2 separate regions of the Homo sapiens genome follow, and region 2 is linked to region 1. The links are contacts of gene promoters, found by promoter capture Hi-C in blood cells and fetal thymus (Javierre and others, 2016). All regions are on one chromosome and are shown on one strand. Each heading gives the region's core, a stretch centred on a gene start or on the middle of the fragment in contact. The rest is flanking DNA. Distances are from core to core; before and after follow the strand shown.

What was found. Contacts are between HindIII fragments. The CHiCAGO score rates a contact against its expected background, and 5 or more counts as called.
Region 2: a contact is called between a fragment that was not itself captured here and the fragment with the promoter of SWAP70 in region 1, in 2 of 17 cell types (M1 macrophages and naive B cells). The highest score is 6.2, in M1 macrophages.

What each region holds. Positions count from the first base shown.
Region 1 is chr11:9,661,160-9,668,637 of GRCh38, forward strand. It overlaps SWAP70 (switching B cell complex subunit SWAP70), which reads left to right and starts at 2,918. Exons shown (of 12, transcript NM_015055.4): 1 at 2,918-3,119. The coding sequence starts at 3,021. RefSeq lists enhancers at 2,096-2,295, 3,406-3,525 and a silencer at 2,766-3,265. The HindIII fragment of the contact is 17,442 bases long and covers 1-7,478 here.
Region 2 is chr11:10,321,865-10,329,342 of GRCh38, forward strand. All of the region lies in intron 1 of CAND1.11 (a long non-coding RNA gene), which reads left to right. Among named protein-coding and RNA genes, the nearest start is that of CAND1.11, 17 kb to the left of the region's middle. RefSeq lists a silencer at 6,858-7,152. The HindIII fragment of the contact is 1,089 bases long and covers 2,780-3,868 here.

The DNA.
Region 1 (7,478 bases), core at 1,668-4,167:
CTTTTGTAGTTTCCCTCCCAAATCAAATAGATTTGACCTGAGCAATCAGTAGAGCATTGCAGAAATGATGGTGAATGACTTTTGATGGTGGATCGTAAGAGACATTGCAACTTCCATCTTTCTCTTTCTTGAATCAATTGAAAGCCAGCTGACGTGTTGTAAGGATACTCAAGCAGCCTGAGGACAGGCCCATATACAGAGGAACTGAGGCCTTCTGTAAACGACCCATCCATGTGAGTGAACCACCTTGGAAATAGATTTTCCAGCATCAGCCTAGCCTTCAAATGACTACAGCCCTATATTTTACTGCAACCTCCTGAGACACTTCAAGCCAGAACTATAGAGCTAAGTGGCTTCTAAATTCCTGACTTACAGAAAATATGAAATAATGTTTACTATAGTTTTAAGCTGCTAAATTTTGGGTTAATTGGTTACACAGCATTAGATTAATATAATCTGTTAGATTCTGAAGCACAACTCTTTACTTTTCTTTCTTTCTTATTTTCAATTTTTTTGTGGAGACGGGGTTTTGCTACATTGCCCAGGCTGGTCTTGAACTCCTGGCCTCAAGCAATCCTCCCACCCCAGTCTCTCAAAGTGTTGGGATTACAGGCAGGAGCCACTGCACCCAGGAAAAGCACAGCGCTTTCTATGACATCATGCTACTTTAAAATTTGTTTGGATAGGAAGGGCATGGTGGCTCACGCCTGTAATCCCAGCACTTTGGGAGGCCAAGGAGGGCAGCTCACTTGAGGCTGGGAGTTTGAGACCAACCTGGCCAACATGGCGAAACCCCATCTCTACTAAAAATAAAAAAATTAGCCGGGCGTGGTGGCTGGCGCCTGTAATCCCAGCTACTTGGGAGGTTGAGGCAGGAGAATCGCTTGAACCCGGGAGGCGGAGGTTGCAGTGAGCTGAGATCATACCGTTGCACTCCAGCCTGGGCAACAGAGTGAGACTCTGTCTCAAAAAAAAAAGAAAAGAAAAAAAAAGAAAAAAAATGCGTTTGGATTGTATGAATGAGGATGATGGGAGAAGTAGGAATTTGGAAGTCCACAATGTCCTGGTCTTGTCATAAAAAAAAGGCTTTGAAATATGTTTGGTACTTCCAGATACTGAGAGAGAAGAAGGGTCATATAGTGGTTAAACTGAACCTTGAGAATTAGGAGGTTTTCTTCGTTTCTTTTTTCTTCTTCTTCTTTTTTTTTTTTTTTTGCTACTCAGGGTAAGCTGACTTCGCATGAATAAATCAGAGGTTAAACCATGTGGTTTTGCTGACTGGCAGACTTGGGCTGGAAATGGGGAAGATAAATGATAGAAATTGGATTCTGGTAGGGCAAGAAAAGTCCTGACAAATGGTGATGAAATGGGGTAGAACCTTCAGGACAGTCACAGTGAGGGGCTGGCCACCCTTTTGCTCCTGCCCCTTCTTTCGTCAGTGGGGCCATCCTCTCCTCTTCCCCACCAGTTCCTTTTTGATCTCAAACTCACTGAAGAGGCTCCTTCTTGTTCTTCTCTTTCCAAATATCCCTTTCTTATGAAGATCTTTTCCTTTCTTAATAAGGCAAACATGTGCATTAAGGAACTTAAAAAAGCAAAACAAAACCAAACTTCATCTGAGAACCACCTCATTTTAAAAACTCTTGGTGTTTATTGTTCTCTCCAATTAGTCCAGGATTGGAGAGGAGAGGTACTGAGCCTGGCGATTTAATCAGACCTTAGTTAACCGGCAATAGTTATTATCCTAGGATGCTAGTACTGCAAGAACCCTTCCAGAACATCTGGTGCAACCCTGCTCTTTTTATACGGGATAATTTGAAGCCCAAAGAGATCAAGTGACCATTGTGACCACCGCGAACAGATATTAATTCAACAGCTGCAATCGAATACTTTTTTTTTTTTTTTTGAGACGGAGTTTCACTCTTGTTGCCCAGGCTGGAGTGCAATGGCGCGATCTTGGTTCACTGCAACCTCCGCCTACCGGGTTCAAGCGATTCTCCTGCCTCAGCCTCCCGAGTAGCTGAGATTACAGGCATGTGCCACCACGCCCGGCTAATTTTGTATTTTTAGTAGAGACGGGGTTTCTTCATGTTGGTCAGGCTGGTCTCGAACCCCCGACCTCAGGTGATCCGCCCGCCTTGGCCTCCCAAAGGGCTGGGATTACAGGCGTGAGCCACCACGCCTGGCCGAATACGTTCTTTTAAATGGTCCATCTCTTTGGATTAGTAAAATGGGTGGAGTGATTTGGAATTGGCCCAGATCTCCTATTCTGCAAGCAGAGAAACACTACAGAGAGGTATTACCCAGGTCAAACCCCTCCTAAGATGTGAATTGAACAACAGCTAGGCGTTAGGAAGAAAATGCTGCCTGACCCTGACTTCTAAACTCCCCTTAAACGTCGTCGCTGTGTCCCTAGAACCCAAGATAGAGTATGCATGAATAAACTTTTGCGAAATGAACCAACAAACTTCCCTCGAGGTCCTTCCTGCCTCCCCGCCGCCCTGCATCTCCCCGACTTGGGACTGCGCTATCATTTCAGTCCTGGTCTGGGGACTTTTCGGGGTCTTCTCTGGCCTTCTCAGACAGTGACTCCGTTCCCAGGACAGGACCAGGGATCCCTTTTTCACTGCGGGGCGCTGGGAGGAGGCGGGTAGGCTGCTCACCTAATCTCTCGGGTTTTTCCTCAAGACGCGGTCATTTGTGTGAGGTGTTGTACTCGAGCACCCAAAATGGCCCGAACTGGTCTGGGAAACATTAGGGAGATGTGTTTACCGTCCTGGCTGACACTGAAGGCCAAGCATTCTTGCCACCAGGCGTGGCTTGACTCGCAGAACCCACACTCTGGCGGCTGTGGGCGCGGCACTGGACCGGCGCCGGCAGCAGGGCGGGGCCTGGCGGGGGCGGGGCCTGGCGGGTCAGGTGACTGCGCGGCGGGCTGTGGCTGCGGAGGTTGAGGGGCGTCCGAGGCGCGGAGGGGCTGGCTGGGCAGGAGGGGTTGGCGGGGCAGCAGGGCCGCGGCCATGGGGAGCTTGAAGGAGGAGCTGCTCAAAGCCATCTGGCACGCCTTCACCGCACTCGACCAGGACCACAGCGGCAAGGTCTCCAAGTCCCAGCTCAAGGTGGGCGCCTCCTGACCCGGCCCCCCACCCGACCCTCCCCGGCGCGCTCTGTACTTCCCTTGGGTGGAAGCGGGACCTGGCGGGCCGTGACCGCAGGGCGGGGCGGGTCGGAATGCGCCCGGTAGGCCCGCTTGGGGCGGAGTGGGTCTGAGACCGGGATTTGGTGTTTACTGCCTCCCCCTTGCCTTCGGGCCATGCCCTCGGTTGGATGTGTTAGTTCCCGCGGGTCTCCCAGGGACTGGGAAGGGTGGCGGGCATAAGGCTGGGGTGAAGTCTGGAGGGCCAAGTGTGATTCCTTCTTGGCGTTGGAGAGCGGGGGGCAGAAAGTGGATTCTGAGGCGGCAATGGGAAGCTCCCTTACACAGCCTTCCCAGAATTTTCCTCTTACTCCAGGAGAGGAAGGGACTTGCCCAAGGTCGCTGGGCAGAACCTTCTGCAGCCCACAGCCCCACACCAGGACAGTCCTCAAAACGGCTAGCTGCCCCGGAGGCGACAGGGCAGTCCGGAGACGCAGAAATGCCCCGAAGCCCGGCCTCCAGGGTCCTTCTCCTTTGGGAGGCTTTTTGACTTGGGAAGACCTTCCGCCCAGCGTCTTTTAAGTTTGGAACTAGTGGACGGGGTGTACTGTGTCCCACAGGGACCTTAGTTCCGGGTGAGGAGCGCTGATCTTTCTGGCACCCTGCAAAAGCGACTGCTTTTTCAGAGTCGTTATTGTGACTGCCGGAGACCCTAGAGTATAGGGTATAAATAAAGGGATGCTTGTAAATTGAGTAACCCCAAGCAGCGAAATTGGCATTAAGCCAGCAGAAATTGGCAGCTTCTTCAAAGTAAAAAAATATAGAAACAGACAAGAAAAGCTATTCATAGGCATTTAAAAATATACATATTTTAGATCCGAATGTCCGGTTTTCTTAGCCCCTTCTGGGAATAAATTCTGAAGATTGGGTTTGTTTTGTATATTTTTGTACAGTAATCCCGTTCTTCTGAGTAGTGGCTTTTATGCCAGTAGGACTTAACATTCTCCTTGTCTTCCTTTTGCCTCTCCTTTCTTTTTCTCACTGATAGAATCATAGTCTGGAAGGGTCCATGGAGATCATCCACGTAATTTTTATTTTACTTCATTTTTAAATATTAACATACAGTAAAATTGACTTTTGGTGTACAGTTCTATAAATTTCAACATATGTATAGATTTATATAACTATCACCACAACCATGGCTTCCTCAGTTCCATCATCCTAAAAAACTCCCTGATGTTGCCCTGCCTCCACCCCAACTGTCGGCAACCATTGATCTTTCCTAATTGCTATAGTTTTACCTTTTCCGAAGTGCCATGTAAATGGAGTCATATAGTTTGTAACTGTTGAAACTGATTTCTTTTACCCAGCATAATGCCTTAGAGATTAATCCATTTTGTTGTGTGTACCAATAATTTTTTAAATTGCTAAGTAATATTCTATTGCATGGATGTATGGTAGTTTTTAGCCATGCATCTGTGAGAATTTGTGTTATTTCCAGTTCGGGGGAGTTATGAGTAGGTCTACATTTTACTTTTATTTTTACTTTTAACTTACCTATGCCATTTTATTTAAAGTAAGTTTTTAATAAATAGATGTAGCTGGGTCTTTTTTTTTATTCATTCTGACAATCTCTGTCTTTTAATTGGTATATTTAGGCCATTTACATTTAATGTAATTATTGATATGGTTTGATTTAGGGCTACCATTTTATTATAATTTGGTTTCTGCTTTTTTTTTTTCCTCTCTTTTTCTTCCATCTTTGGGATTATTTGAATATGCTTTAGTTTTTTGTTTTTTTTTTTTCTGAGACACAGTCTTGCCCTGTTGCCCAGGCTGGAGTGCGGTGGTGTGATCTCGGCTCACTGCAACGTCTGTCTCCTAGGTTCTAGAGATTCTCGTGCCTCAGCCTCCCAAGTAGCTGGGATTGCAGGTGTGCGTCACCACACCTAGCTAATTTTTGTATTTTTAGTAGAAACGGGGTTTCACCATGTTGGCCAGGCTGGTCTTGAACTCCTGAGCTCAGGTGATCTGCCCTCCTTGGTTTCATGAAGTGCTAGGATTACAAGTGTGACCCACTGTGCCTGGCCAATATTTCATTTTAATAGAGTTTTTTACTATATTTCTTCATGTAGGTTTTTTTAGTACTTGCTCTAGGAGTTAGAATATCCATCCCTAACTTTTCATAGTGTACTTAGAGTTAATATTTTACCACTTTAAGGAGAATGTAGAAAACTTATCACCATATAGGTCCCTTTACTCTCACTGCTTTATGTTGTAATTGTCATATTTATTAATCTACATACATTGAAATCCCCATCAGACAATATTAAATTTTTTGCTTTCAACCATCATTTCTCTTTTAAAGATCTTAAGAGGAGAAGAAAATTTTATTCTTTTTTTCCAGATATTCCCAGATGACCTCTTAATTTTTTTTTTTTTTTTTTGAGCCGGAGTTGCGCTCTGTCACCCAGGCTAGAGTGCAGTGGTGTGATCTCGGCTCACTGCAACCTCTGCCTCCCGGGTTCAAGCGATTCTCCTGCCTCAGCCTTCTGAGTAGCTGGGACTACAGACACGTGCCACCAAGCCTGGCTAATTTTTGTATTTTTAGTAGAGATGGGGTTTCACCATATTGGCCAGGGTGGTCTCAAACTCCTGACCTCGTGATCTGCCCGCCTTGGCCCTGCAAAGTGCTGGGACTACAGGTGCCCGCTGCCATGCCTGACTAATTTTTTTGTGTGTATGTTTTAGTAGAGACGGGGTTTCATTGTATTGCCCAGGCTGGTCTCGAACTCCTGAGCTCAGGCAATTTAACCAACTTGGCCTCCAGAAGTGCTAGGATTACAGGTGTGAGCAACTGCAATGATATGTTTAGTGATTTGTCCAAAGTCACAGTTGTAAGTAGTAGCTAATCTAGAACCAAGATTTTCACACTTCTGTGTGTGTGTGTGTGTGAGAGAGAGAGAGAGAGAGAGAGACAGGGTCTTGCTGTGTCACCCAGGCTGGAGTGCAGTTGCACTATCTTGGCTCACTGCAACCTCCACTTCCTGGCTCAAGCGATCCTCCAGCCTCCACCTCCCAAGTAGCTAGGCTCACAGGCATGAGCCACCATGCTCAGTTCATTTTTGTATTTTTTTGTAGACATAGGGTTTTGTCATGTTGTCCAGGCTGGTGTTGAACTCCTGAGCTCAAAGACATCCGCCCGCCTTGGCCTTCTAAAGTGCTGGTATTCAGATATGAGCCACCTTGTCCAGACAACTCTTTATAATTCTTTTTCTCTTTTTTTGGAGACAAGGTCTTTTTGTCGCCCAGGCTGGAATGCGGTGGCGCGATCATGGCTCAATGCAGCCTCAACCTCCTGGGCTCAAGCAGTCCTCCCACTTCAGACTCCCACGTAGATGGGACTACAGGCACAGGCCACTATGCCCAGCTAATGTTTGTACTTATGTAGAGATGGAGTTTTGCCATTTGCCCAGGCTGGTCTTGAATTCCTGAGCTCAGACTATATGCCTGCCTCAGCCTCTCAAAATGCTGGGATTACAGGCACGAGCCACTGCACCCATCCTATTTTCACACTTTATTACTATTACTGTTGTATTTTTTATTTTTTTGAGACGGAGTGTCGCTTTATCACCCAGGCTGGAGTGCAGTGGTGCGATCTTGGCTCACTGCAACCTCTGCTTCCTGGGTTCAAGCGATTCTCCTGCCTCAGCCTCCCAAATAGCTGGGATTACAGGTGCCCACTACCACACCTGGCTAATTTTTGTATTTTTAGTAGAGATGGGGTTTCACCATGTTGGCTGGGCTCATCTCAAACTCCTGACCTCAGGTGATCCACCCGCCTTGGCCTCCCAAAGCATTGGGATTATAGGCGTGAGCCACCATGCCTGGCCTATTTTCACACTTTAAAGCCAATGGTTTCTTCATTTTCTTCTCTTCCAATTGACGGCATAAATGAGATTTTTTGGATTACTTTGATGATACTTTATTCAAAATTGTCTTTATGGCTGCTTATAGGAAAAGCGTCTTGGCAGGAAATGTTAAATCCCAGTTCATAGATTTCACCCACAGTATGTTGATAATGCAACTGTGCAATTGTATTTTGTCTCTCTCTTGTCTGTATGAGACTTTGGGATTGGTTCAGTTCTGTTCATCTTGCCAGTGTTCGTAGAATTGAAAATATTTAAACATTTTTATTTAGGTCTCCTTTTGTGTTTGACCCTAGTTCTGTGTTCTGTTGGCTGGGAGTAGAGTTTTTGCCTTAATTTGTTGATTGATTCATTCACTCATACAGTAACCTTCTGTAAGTCTACTATGTGTAAGGTACCATGCTAATTTAGTC
Region 2 (7,478 bases), core at 2,074-4,573, 660 kb after region 1:
CATCCTTCCATTTCTACTTTAAATGATAAGAAAGTTTCCTCTTGGATGGAAATTAAACATCTCAGCCTGGGTGAGGCAGCTCAGGCCTGTAATCCCAGCATTTTGGTAGGCTGAGGCAGGAGCCTTGCTTGAGGTCAAGGGTTCAAGACCAGCCTGGGCAACATAAGGAAATCCTCCTTCTCTAATCTAAGGGGAAAAAAAAAAAAGTATCTCAGTCTAAGGTGTGTCTGAGAGAGTTCTGAATCACCATTTTGGGATGGAACAAACTGACCAGTCACTTCTTTTTTTTTTTTGAGACGGAATCTCGCTCTGTCACCCAGGCTGGAGTGCAGTGGCGCAATCTCGGCTCACTGCAAGCTCCGCCTCCCGGGTTCACGCCATTCTCCTGCCTCAGCCTCCTGAGTAGCTGGGACTACAGGCGCCTGCCACCACGCCCAGCTAATTTTTTGTATTTTTAGTAGAGACAGGGTTTCACCATGTTAGCCAGGATGGTCTTGATCTCCTTACCTCGTGATCTGCCTGCCTCGGCCTCCCAAAGTGCTGGGATTACAGGCGTGAGCCACTGCTCCCGGCTGACCAGTCACTTCTTAAAGGCAAAACTGGATTTGCTCTGCAAAACAATTCAGCAAAAACTTGGGTTCCAACTCTGGTGCTACACTGTGACAATGGAAACTTTCCAGCTACAACTTGGAAGTTGGGAGCCAAGCACAATACTAAGTCAAGGAAGGTATTTGAGGCCAAAGCAGACAGTGGTCTTGGCACTGCCTGCTCCTGAGCCCAAGCTGCAGCAGCTGTGGGGTGGTGATGCAGCTTTCAGAGATCTCTAAATCTCTAAGTACACCAGAAACCAGATTTTATTAACTCCCCTTTTCCACTTTTTTTTGCCCCTACATTTCTGCCATGGATTATATCATAATAGATGGTGAAAATGCTGTGAGGTGTATACTCAATTCCTAGGCATTCTTCCACTTAATCATACTCAGTTTTCTTTGAGGGCCTCCACATTGTAAATGAGCAACACCTTGATACTGGGAAAATGAATATGAAACTCAGGGCCACAGCCTCTGTGATCTGGTCATTCTGGGGCAGTCATTTTCCTACTTGGCCTACAGAACCAGGCAGGTCTCTGGCCTGGGGGTGGCGGGTGATGTTGTATTCTCTTGTCAAAGTGCACAGAGCCCACTCTGAGAAGATGCTATACTCTTCACGTTACAAGACGGCAATATGCCCGTTTCTGGGCCAATTGGCTGACTCAGAGATGAGGAGATTATTCCGTGACACTTTGTTTTCATTCCAGTCCAAAGGGCAAAAAAAAAAAAAAAAAATGTAAAACTCTGCTGCCACCTGCTGTTTCTTTAGGAATAAATTCTTGAAACGGTTCTAGGTTGATTGTATATTGGTTATCTTAGCCAAGTGCCTTGGTGGTGAATTTGGGGGATTTTGGAATATAAGTTTATGTAGTTGTGTACCAACTGGACTGTCATTTCCTAGGATGAACTGTTGGACCACATGGGTGGCTTCTCTCTTTCAGTCCATTAAGTCCTGCCTCCCTCATCCCTTGCTGAGACTCAAGGGCAGACTCCTTGATCCCAGACAACTTTCCAAGGGAGTTCACGCAAGGCTCTGACCAGTGAGGCTCCAGAGCAAAACCCAGGAGGCTTATAGGTTTAAGTGTCTTTTCTTTATGGGCCAATGATGTCTGAAAACTGTAGCAGTAGGTAAATTCCCCAAGCACAGACTATTCTCTGCTGGGTGTCAGTGGGTGGTATTGGAAGTGCCTCTCAGAAGTGCTCTTCTCAGCTTGAGGTTCATTTGTGATGAGGTTCATTTGTGGTGTCTCCAGATGTTTTATCTTTGTCTTCCTTGAGGAAACTGAGGCAGATTAAGGAAGACGAGTGTCCAGGAAAGTAAAGGCTAGCTCCATTTGAATCACACCCAGGTGAGAATACTTGAGCTCAGGTTAGATGATGAGAGGGATGAGGAAAACAGTGGCTCCTCGGAGCTCAAATAAAGAGCACTGGAGCATTAATATAGTCATAAGCTTAGATGGGCTTGATAAAGCCCTTAGTCATCTTATTGGAGGCATCCAGAGGACAGAGGCTGCCTTGCCTTGACTATATTAGTGGCTTGTTGCTGCTCCAAATCAGAAAGTGGGATTTTCCTTTTTGCCTTCTTTGGGAAGATCCATTTGTATGTAAATGAGTTCTTTTTGATTGCAGTCATTGTTGTAGCTGAGAATTCTTTCAACCAAGATCTTTTTCTTGGCAGAGATTACTGAGTCTATTAAGTGTGTTTTCATATAATTCTAAGTGACTTTTTAGATGGACACAGAAAGAAGTGTTAAGGAAATGACCCTTGGTCTTTTCTCCTATCAAAGAGAAAAGGCATTTGAGTGGTATCGATAAGCATTGAAGGTAACTGATGGCTTATCACTGTGTCTGGCATTATAGCTGGCACATTTATTGACTGAATGGTCAAACTTATCACCCGTTGTTCTTCCCAGAAGGTTCGTGAGACCTGTTGGGGAGGGACGGGGATAGAAAGGAACAGAAGGAAGAGTCTCAGAGTTAATCAGGTGGAAAGTCTGTAAGTGGAGTGAACCATGGGAGCTAGAATGCTATGGTAGGACCAAAATTAATACTGTATATGTCAAAATAAATGTGTATTACTTATAAAGTATATACAGTTCCTAAAAATTATCAAACAAGGTTATTATGTACAACATTTCTCCCTTCTGTGTCTCATTCCCTAAATATTATGATTGTTAACATATTGCACAAGCTTGACCATGTTTATGCTTCATGTATTTTCTTGTTTATGTCCCCGTTGTTCTCCCTCAGTATTTTGTAAAGGCTTTGGAAAAGTTCCAGCCTATCTCAGCTATGTGAAGAAGAGTTCAGGGAAGGAGTTTGTATAACACTAAAGAAATGTCAGTATCTCCTCACAGGTAGGGGCTGACATGATGCCACGGCAATGGGAAATGAAGTGGGAAACCCGAAGCAGGAAGGAAAACTCAGGAGAACTGGGTTGGGATAGTGGTTTCAGCTTCTCCTCGCCTCCTAAAGAGTCTCTTGATAGTTCTCAGGCCTTGAAGGTTCTGCCTGCCCCCAGGTTCCCCACCCCAGGAAAATAAGCAACTTCTCAGGAGAATAATGAGGTTGGTGTTTACCTTTGTGCTTCATTTGAGTAGCATGAGAGCACCCCATTCCTCACATCTGTTCATTCTTCTCCCCTTAGAAATCTTGTCTCAGCTGAAAGGTCAGAGCTAGAAGCCCCAATCTGCTTCTAGCTCTGACCTTCTGGCTTTGTCAGGAATCCCTATGAATTTGTGCTGTTGATTTTCTTTGAACTAAATACAGAAATGTGTCTGCACTCTGGGATAGAGAAGAGAGTATAGTAATTGCCAGGAGAACTGAAGATGACCTTAAGGCAGGCCAGGTGACTGGTAAACCATACCCTTCACAAGGCTACCAGAGCTCTAGCCTGACCAATATTATTTTGAAAGGGAATACATTAGAATCCCTGGTGACTAGATGAACATGGCCATCACTATTTCTACAAACCTGTCTTCTGATGAACATATACTCCTGCTGGATGGTGTCAAGACATGCTTGTTTCTTGAGTGGTTTAGATACCAGTTATTGCCCCTCCTGTTATGCCTGGTAACTAGGATGCTGTCAAGAAAATACAGCAGGACTTCATTGAGCTTAAAAAGAGCGTTTCAAAAATATTGCATTAGCCTTTTGTCCTTTCAGTCTGTTTTTCATAGAACAAATGTAATCTTAGTCGCTACAAATTTGTTTAAAATAGCTCTTCTGGTGAGTCACCTAAAGTTAACTGCAGATATGGTATTGTTTTAGCCATGTCAAGCTTGAAATGTTATCCAAGTCCTAGGAACTACTCACTATGGGAAGCTGATGATGTATGTGCCCTCACACGTGTTTTGAGGGTGATCCTATAATGTCCGGAGAGAAAGAAATGCCTGAGATGAACTGGTCAGCATTACATTTCTCAGAACGGGCTGCAAGAGCTTCAGAAGCAAAAGGAGTGTTCTCTGTAGGCTCAGATGCTCACATGACCCAAGACACGTGAAGGGTCTGCCCATCATTCACCCCTCTATCCCCACAAGTGGTCAGAAAGTTAGGAAAATCTCCAAGAGACCATGCAGAAGGGTCAAAGGATCTTGCAGATGTTCTGAGCAAAAAAATGAAAACTTTAAACAGAACATTGTGCCATGACTTGAAAAGGTCATTATCTAGTTCACACTTACATCAGACTATAAATATTGTCAGAAAAATGGATATGTTTGCCAGGACCATGAACAGTAAAATTGCTTAAAATAGGCCACAGAAACCCTCAAGGCCAGTGGGGCCATGGCAGGCCATGACACTCAAACCTGATGCTGCCTTGTGAGAGACCTCAGCAGGAACAAAAGCCAACAGCTGCTTATTGGAAAATTTATACTCAGTGGCCCTCAAAAATTGCAAAAGCCTTTCAAGTCATGTAAGTTAATTTTGTCTCACTCTTCCACCAGGTAGAAGTGAGACAGGGAGACTCATGCTCCTTAAATGAGGTCCCTTGTCAAAGACTAGCTGTCTTATGGCCTTTGAATACTCTGCCCTTCCCCCTTCCTATGGTATAGCTTTGTGTCCAGTTAGCACTGAGCAGAAGCTGCTCTCCTGCTGTCCCCACCCACTGTTGGCTAAAGCCAGGTCACCTCCTGCCAGGCAGCGGCTGGGTGAAAGTCCAGAGAAGCTCTCCTGAATAAACAAGTCAAACAAAGGCAGTTCCCAGCAGTGGATGGGGCTGTACTCCAGAAGTCTATTTGCAAATCTGTCCTTTAGAACTCGGAAGACATTCCCCAGGAGGAGCAATGTTATGCAGTGTGGCAAGGTTCCCAGGCTAGCCCACACCTCTGATTTAACCCAGAATGGGCTGGGGAAACAGTGCTCTAGAACTCATCATTATGGGTAATACCTTTGTAGTCTCTGCTCTTCAGTTTACAAATAGTTGCTGAGCTAGGCATGGTTCCAGGTGATGTGAAGGTTCAAAGCTGCCTCAGCTTTGTGGAGTAGGTAGATTCAGTAGCTCCTGGGTGCACAGTGGCTGAGATTTTCCCAGTCTCATGAAATCCCTGCTTCTCTTTCCTATCTACATGTTTTAGGCTGAAAGTGAAGGGATGACCATTCCGGCTTTTCTTTGGTTTGTTTCTTCAAGATAACCTGGTGTAGGGAAGGGTGAGAGTCCTGGCTCTATCATTACACACAGCAGCATCTCCAAGCTTCAGTTTCTCCTCTGAAAAATAGGATAATATGTAGCTAAGAGAGCCTTGGAGTTGCCTCCCCAGCCCTTGTTCTTCTCTTGGTAACTACCATGACTTTTGTTAGGGTATCCACATCTCCCCCAATAGACCACTCCACTCCTGAAGACTCAGGCCTAGTGCAATTCCATTTTAAGGCCACTATTACAGGACCCAGTGATGGGTGCTGGCCTAATTCAGGCCAGTGAGCTTGCATAAGTTTATTGGCTTATTTCCAGAAAAACAAATTTCCTTTTTCCTGCTAGATAAGAATGGGACACATATGTGGTCTCACTAGCAATTCAGGCCAATGAGTTTGCATAAGTTTACTGGCTTATTTCCAGAAAAACAAGTTCCCTTTCTCCTGCTAGATAAAAGTGGGAGACATATGCAGTCTCAGCAGCAATAGAAAGCCACTCTGAGACTAAAACAGGGGCAAGCCCTAGATGGAAGCTCTCATTGTGAATGGCAGAGTGGAGTGATGGAAAATAGAACTCCCTGATAAAGTTGTTGAACTCCTAAATGGACCCATCCTCAATCCTGTCATACTTCTATTGTATAAACCAATCATCTCCTTCACTTAGTAACCCATAGTGAGTTGAGCTTTCTGCTCCTTTTAATGGAAGCCATCTTAATTAATACATTATAGCACAGGATTTACTATGGGCATTAAATGGGATATAGCATTCACAGTATCTGTCTCATGCTGAAAAAAGAAAAAAAATTCATAGTATTTAGCACAGAATTTATATATGACCCCTGCCCTTCCAGTCCAAGGGCATTAATGGAAAAGACCATAGTTTCTCAGGCCTTTGTTGGATAGGGAAGAAGAGGGCATGTGTGGACTCCAACACGACCTTAACCTGGTTTGAGGCTTGAATATCTTGCCTGGGCTAGAAAGGTGGCCCCTCTGGACTGGCTTTAATTTTAGGATCAGTCCCTTTAGAGGGAGTAGATCTTGTAAGCTGGGGTTTCCCTAGCCCTTGGCAAGTATACATGTTGAAGAGGGTTGGGAGACAAAGAGGGAAGAAAGGAGAGAACCATGACTTGCTGGTGTAATAACAAAAGGTCCTACCTATCTTTGGGATCGAGATTAATCTCTCCTGTCTTTCTTCTTTTTCCTCCTTTCTTCCTTACATTTTTTCGCACTCCCAGTTCTCATTAGGGCTGAAGAAGAAAGGGAAGTCAAAGCTGGGATGGCAAAGGAGTGGAAGTATATGCCAGAGGGAGAAAGGGGAACTTGTGTAAGCTAATTCTGATGACTTTGCATTCAAGTGTAGCACAGATCTCAGTTTTCAGACTAAATGGTAGCTTTAGACTCCTATCGGAGGTTGGCAAGGCTGGTTTCTTGGAGTTTTTGCATGAAGAACAGGAAACTAGGCAGAGCAGCCTGGTTCAAGGACAAAGGGTTATGTTATGACTAATAGGAAGGAGGAATCATTTGGAGTACACACAGTGGCTGTAAGTCAGATTTCGGTCATTTCATTACCCCCAGATTTAGCCTAAGTCACCAGGGAGAGGAGACTGCAATAAAAGAAAAATTAACAAAAAGCTGACATGACTGAAATCTGAAGGAACTTGATTCACATGACATTACTGCTTTGCAGTTGTGCTGTATTACAAGGGTAGAGCTCATTTGTCCTAGTGTTAGCATACTGCACTTGAGAGTATGCTAGAACACAGGATGGAAAAGGAGTGTGAGAAAACATTACTTCACAAAAGTGGGTCAAGGGTGCCATGTTCCAACTGTGAAATGGATGCTTAGAAATGAAAATAGAACTCCAGTGTGGTCTGACCAGAACAGGATTGAGCTGCCACCCTCTTATCGGGACACTAGATTTATGGCTGTGGTCAAGAATTGCCCTAATCTTGTTTTTATCAGTCACATTCCAATAATGCCTCATAATGAATCCATGGTCAATTAAAAGCCCAGTTGTTTTTTACATGAACTGCTGCCAAGTCAGGAATCCCTGTGAATTTGTGTTGTTGATTTTCTTTGAACCAAATACAGAACTTTACAATGATTCTTCTTGAAAGTCATGCTGGTCAGATTATTTTGCATCTTGCTTATTTTGTCTATTAGCTATTACTCTAAACTTTGTGCTTACCTTCTTCATCATTTAAGACACGTATAAAAATATTGACTAGGGCCAGGTGCAGTGGTTCATGCCTGTAATCC